Linked DNA regions of Homo sapiens: region 1 is linked to region 2. The links are contacts of gene promoters, found by promoter capture Hi-C in blood cells and fetal thymus (Javierre and others, 2016). All regions are on one chromosome and are shown on one strand. The core of a region is centred on a gene start or on the middle of the fragment in contact, and the rest is flanking DNA. Distances in the headings are between cores, read along the strand shown. Region 1 holds the start of TNFRSF11A (TNF receptor superfamily member 11a). Region 2 holds the start of VPS4B (vacuolar protein sorting 4 homolog B).

Region 1 (2,700 bases), core at 56-2,555, 1.1 Mb before region 2:
TATAGAAACGAAAGATAACATCTTAACATATGTCCCTGAATTGTTTCTCAGAAACCCAGACCCCCAACAAAACAGATCCACTGGCATGCAGACCTCAGACAAGGGGGAAATGAGGACGGAACTGACCACCATTCTTTCTTCTAAATTTCTTCCTGAAGGGCAAGGAGGAAGTCACACCCACGAGCCAGAGCTAACATTCATTTTTGCTGACCCCAAATTTTTAACAAAGCTTCTCTTCCTTCACTGATGGCAAGTCAGAAAATCTTTGAATGTATAACCTATAAGCACCCTCACTTTAAAGATTTTCAAGATATCCCAGCTTGTTAGACCAAACCAATGTGCAACCTCCGTGTATTATGATTTTGCCTGTAACTTCTGCTTTCTTGAAATTAACCCTGCGTTTAAAAATCCTTACTTGCAAGCCAACTGAAGGTCAGGATTTAAGCAAGAGCTGCCCCATTCTCCTTGCCTGGAGCTCTGCAGATAAGCGCCCTCTTTTCTCCCAGTGCAAACCTTAGTGCGGATGGCTTGGCCTTACTGCACCAGAAGAACGGACCTCAGTTTTTAGGTAACACTGTGCCCCAGACATCTGGCCACTTTATGTCTGAAAGGGCCAATGTGGTGATGGGGGCTGGGGGACGCCTCAAGGCTGGCGGAGCCTGGTGCCTTTCTAGAATTTGGTGGGTGCAGGACGGGTGAGGGGCGGAGGCAGAGGATCAGGAGAAGAAAAAGAGATAGTGGCTGCTGGCCCCAACATTTTGAAGCAAAGAACAAGAGGAGTATTTTACGAAGATTGGCGGATGGTGTATTGTGTTGATGCCTTAACTGCAGTCGACGAAATCTCCAGGAAGGATCCTCCTCCCGTTCATTCTCGACGGTGGCGCATCCACTTTCGGAAGGCCGGGCCTCGAAGGGTGGGCGCGCGGGGCAGGAGCAGGACCACCCCGATGCCCCCATTCCTTCCCGGGAGGCGGGGCCCACAGGCCTGGGGTGCGGCAAGGCAGGAGCCAGTGCCGTGAAGGGCAACCCAGGGCTGGTCTCCCGCCAACCTGTCTGCAGCCCGAGCACCTGGGCCAGGGGCGGAGACCGGACCAAGGAGGCACCGGGCGCGGCGAACACCCCCGGGGCCCCTCCCCGAGCGGGGCCCCGCGTCCCACCGCAAACCAGGGGAGCTTGGGCACCACCTGGCTGGCACCGCCGGGCCCGGCCGGAGGGGGGCGCAGGAGGGCGGCGCGGGGGCAGGTGCGGGGCGGGGCACGGGGGCGGGACCACACAGGGCCGCGGCAGCCGCGCCCGCTGGGCCACAGAGGCCGCTGAGGCCGCGGCGCCCGCCAGCCTGTCCCGCGCCATGGCCCCGCGCGCCCGGCGGCGCCGCCCGCTGTTCGCGCTGCTGCTGCTCTGCGCGCTGCTCGCCCGGCTGCAGGTAAGGAGCGCCCGCGCCTGCCGGGCCGCGCGGCCCGACGCCTCCTCGGGAGCCCCGGGAAGGGCCGGGGCCGGCGGCATCCTGGCTCCTCCGCCTTCCGAGAGGAGCCGGAGTTTTGGGGAGCGGAGGCCGTGGGAAGCTGGGGAGGCGCTTCCAGAGTTGGACGGCGGAGGGCGGGAAAGGGCAAGCGGAGGGAAACTGGGGCGCAGAAGGAGCAGGTTGGCGGGACCGCAACACCCGAAACGGGCTCTTCCAAAAGCCCCTCTTAGCCGCAGGCTTTGATGCTGTCATTTTCTCCAAATGCTTCTTGAGCACCTACTAAGCGCTTGCGCCGGGCGGTGCCGCGGGAGACAGCGCCGTGGGCACCTCACTTGCGGCAGATAACCGTTCCCGATACGATTTCTCCCGGGTGGCCTCCGTCCCAAATTTCCACCCGGAAAGAGACATGATTCCCTCCGTCCCTGAACTGCGGGCTTGCCTTTGCCTCCCCTGAGCCCCTTCGGGGACACCCCTGCCAGCTCGCCTGGAGGCCCCGCACGGCGGGGAGAGACTGCGCGCGCGCCCCGGGGATGCTGGACTTGACCCTCGCAGACCCGAGTGGCTTCCCGGTCCTCTCGGAACAGGTTTCTCAGTACAGTTAGCAAGCGAATGCAGCCAGGCACGGACTTTCTGCCTCGTGGAGGAGGGCCGCAGAGGGAAGCACACCCAGCACAACAAACGCTTTAAAAATCGTTGATACGAACTTGAAAGCTCTCACAGGGAAGGGCGAGTGGTGGTTTTCTTGGTTTCGGCTGGGTCAGATTTCCCCTCTGTTAACACTAGGTTAGGCTGCTGCCGTCCCTCCGCAGCCGGGCACGGAACCCGGAGAGGCGTGGGGAGGGACGCATGGAGAATCGTGTTTGGGTGAGAAGAGAGGGGAAAAGCCTTGACAGAAATAATGTGGGTGCACTGAAGGCTGAAGCAAAAGATTCTAGGGAAGATTCATTCCCAATTGTATGGGTCTGTCAGTATGGTTGAGGGAAACGAAGGCGGAAAAGTCTAAAGGATTTTTTCATTTTAAGCACTTCAGGTGTTGCTTAATTAAGTGTTCAACAGGTTGAACGGGGTGCTACCTTATTTGAACCAAAGGACCAGGGTTTCAGCGAACAGCTAGCCACCTAAGAAAAACCTGCCTGACCACGCAGTTGCAAAATTATCTCTCACTGCTGTCGCAAAATGACATATTCATATGTGCATAAAAGGCGTTCGGTTCTAATATGAACAACAAATGCTATCAA
Region 2 (2,700 bases), core at 46-2,545:
AGGTCGATTTTCAAGATGAAAGTCCCAAGCAAGCCTCCTTTCCCACTCTTTTTGTGTATGTGTGTGTGAAATTTTAATCTCTGTTTAAGTGGGTCTACTTTGAGTGGTCTTTCTTCAGAATCAATTATCATGGGTTAAGGAGTTCTTCCATTACCTTTGATGCCTCTGTCAGGCACTCCAATAACTGCTTGTTCAACAAACTACCGGAAGTCCACGACGGGGACTCAATACAAGTATTTTAGGCTACTCTTTTGTGCCTTATTGACTTACTGGACTGGGAGTCCTCTACATTAAGCCACATTACATTCTAAACGCCACTGAAGCCCTAGATCCATTCTGGGGATGGGAGACACCATTACATTAAGAAATTTCTTTTCTGAACGAATTCCATTCCACAGAGGACTAACGATTAAGCCTAAAATCTTAAGATTCCATGATTTGTGTACAAAACACTGTGCTCATTGCGGTAGAGGAGGGGAAGTGGAGCCACACAGAGGTTTAAGAATACTCCTCGATCTTACACACTACCATCTGGGAGCCACAGGAGTGTGCACATAAATTCAATGACTTCACGGAGATTGCATGCAGGCTGGCTGTAATCTCAGATTCTTGGTCTGTTCCCATATCTCTACTCACCTGACAGCTCAGAATGAAGGGGTCTGCTGTCAGCTTGAGAAACTAAGACCGAACTATGACCACCCTATCTTCAACTGGTCCAGAATAGGGCTTTGCAAAAATTACGTTCTTTCTTTCTCCGTTAACCCTGATTGGAGAAACCTGCCCAGATCTTGGCTGGTTTGGAAGCGGGAAGTGTCAACAAAAGTGAAGAGTCTCACAAAGCCAGTAGCTCGGGAGACCCCAAGAGCGGGCCAGAAACGACCTTTCCGTTGGAAAACGGGCCCCTCTCCCACCTGCTGCAGGTCCCCGGACCCGCCCTCCTGCGCCTCGACCACAGGCGCGGCCGCTTCCTCCCTTCTCCCCGCCCCCCACCCGCTTCTCGCGCCTCCCCTCGATCCCAGCTCCCTAGGGGGACGGGAGATGAGCAATGATACCTGGAGGTTGGGCGAAGTGGATGACATGGCGGAGTTCCCAGGCGGTTCCCAAGGGAACGAGGGGCGAGGAGAGCCAACAGCAGCAACGTCGAAGCGCGCACGGGGTAACAGCCCTCAAACTGGGGAGGCCGGTGGTTCTCGGACCGCGAAGGGCAGCCTCCCTTCCGGAACTTGTTTTAGACAACACTCTCTCCACCAGAGCTCCGACCCTCCCCACCAAACTTCCGCAATCCCGAGGCCCTCTAGGTTCTGGTCCCGCCTCTGCTCCGGGCACTTCCGATTTCGTCATCAGCACGCGCACCCAGTCACCAGACTCCCTTCTCTAGCCACAGCGCAGGCCCTCCCTGGGCCGGGAGAAGTAGCCTGGAAGCCAATCGAGCCCTGGCGGAAGTCGGGCTCGGCGCAGGCGCACTGAGACTCTGGCCTAGGCGCGGGCGGCAGCCTGGCAGACCTAGGAGAGCGCAAGCGCGGAAGCACAGAGCCGGGTTTTGTTGTTTGTTTGTTCCCCACCCCCGGGGACGTCTTTTACTTTGAGATGAATTATTGGCCCCGGCTCCCTTCCCTCCTCATCCACATGCTTTGTTGCCTCGTAGCTTTTGAGTGAAAAAGTCGTCCATTTCCAAGACCCGCCGACTGGGGGCTTTGGGCCTGTGACTGCGCCTTCACTCCGTGTCCTCTGTGGAATGGGGGCGATCACCGTCCTCGTCTCGGTGGTGAATAATTCAGGAGGGAGTGCGCGGTGAGGCGGCCGCACAGCGGTGCGCTAGCAGTCAGGCCGCGGGCGGGTCGGCGCTCGTTCCCGCTTGTTCTTCCCACGCCACTCGGCATCTTCCAAATGACTGTTGTGTTGGGAAGATGAATGTAAATAAGGCGTGGACGGCCGCTGTCCTCGAGTATGTGGTCTGAGAGGGAAGCACTTGTCCTGTAAAATGGGCATATCAGATATTATTTATGCCAGTTATGTTTACAAGCAAATGGCTTGAGGAGGTTGAATGCGTCAGGGATTAGAGGCAGAACCAAAGTAAAACCCTTTCTCAGCCTTCCTATGGTTTGCAGCCACCACCACCCTTTTCTTCTTTTCATAGTTAACATTCTCAAAGGAAAGCAACATAGATGTTTAATCACTCCATCATTTTTTTCTCACTCATTTCTTAATTTTTTCTCATCTGGCATCTCCGAAAGAATTAAAGTCCTCTCCTCTTCCCTCTTCATTGGTATTGTCAACTACCCAGTTCTTGTTTGTCCAGCTTCCCAATATTCCTTATCTGCTTCCTTCACTGTCTCCCTTTCTTACTCCTCCCTGAGCTTAAGCTGAATTTACTCAAGAGTCTGATGTCCTCTTCTCTCTTCACCTCTGCTCATCTAACTCTCTTCTTGAGCTTCAGCTATCAATAGACTAGAAATTGCTTCAAATCTGGATCTCTAGACCCACCCCATCCCCAGCCCAGCATTTACAACAGCCTCCCAGAGGTTTCCTTCACAGGGTTTTTCTGCAAGACAAATTCAACATACTCTAATTAATTACCTTCTACCCTAAACTTCTTTCTCTGGTCTCTCCTTAGAATAGTATTGCCAAATCTGTATCATCCAGGCTCGAAGCACAGAGCCCTCTCTCTGCCCTGCATCTACCCGTCCTTTCTTCCCACTT

Evidence for each region. Contacts are between HindIII fragments. The CHiCAGO score rates a contact against its expected background, and 5 or more counts as called.
Region 1: a contact is called between the fragment with the promoter of TNFRSF11A here and the fragment with the promoter of VPS4B in region 2, in 2 of 17 cell types (fetal thymus and total CD4 T cells). The highest score is 5.8, in fetal thymus.

What each region holds. Positions count from the first base shown.
Region 1 is chr18:62,324,005-62,326,704 of GRCh38, forward strand. TNFRSF11A (TNF receptor superfamily member 11a) reads left to right here and starts at 1,306. Exons shown (of 10, transcript NM_003839.4): 1 at 1,306-1,423. The coding sequence starts at 1,349. RefSeq lists silencers at 938-1,147, 1,198-1,397. The HindIII fragment of the contact is 5,361 bases long and covers 228-2,700 here.
Region 2 is chr18:63,421,181-63,423,880 of GRCh38, forward strand. It overlaps VPS4B (vacuolar protein sorting 4 homolog B), which reads right to left and starts at 1,296. Exons shown (of 11, transcript NM_004869.4): 1 at 1,053-1,296. The coding sequence starts at 1,079. RefSeq lists an enhancer at 1,164-1,463. The HindIII fragment of the contact is 6,978 bases long and covers 1-2,700 here.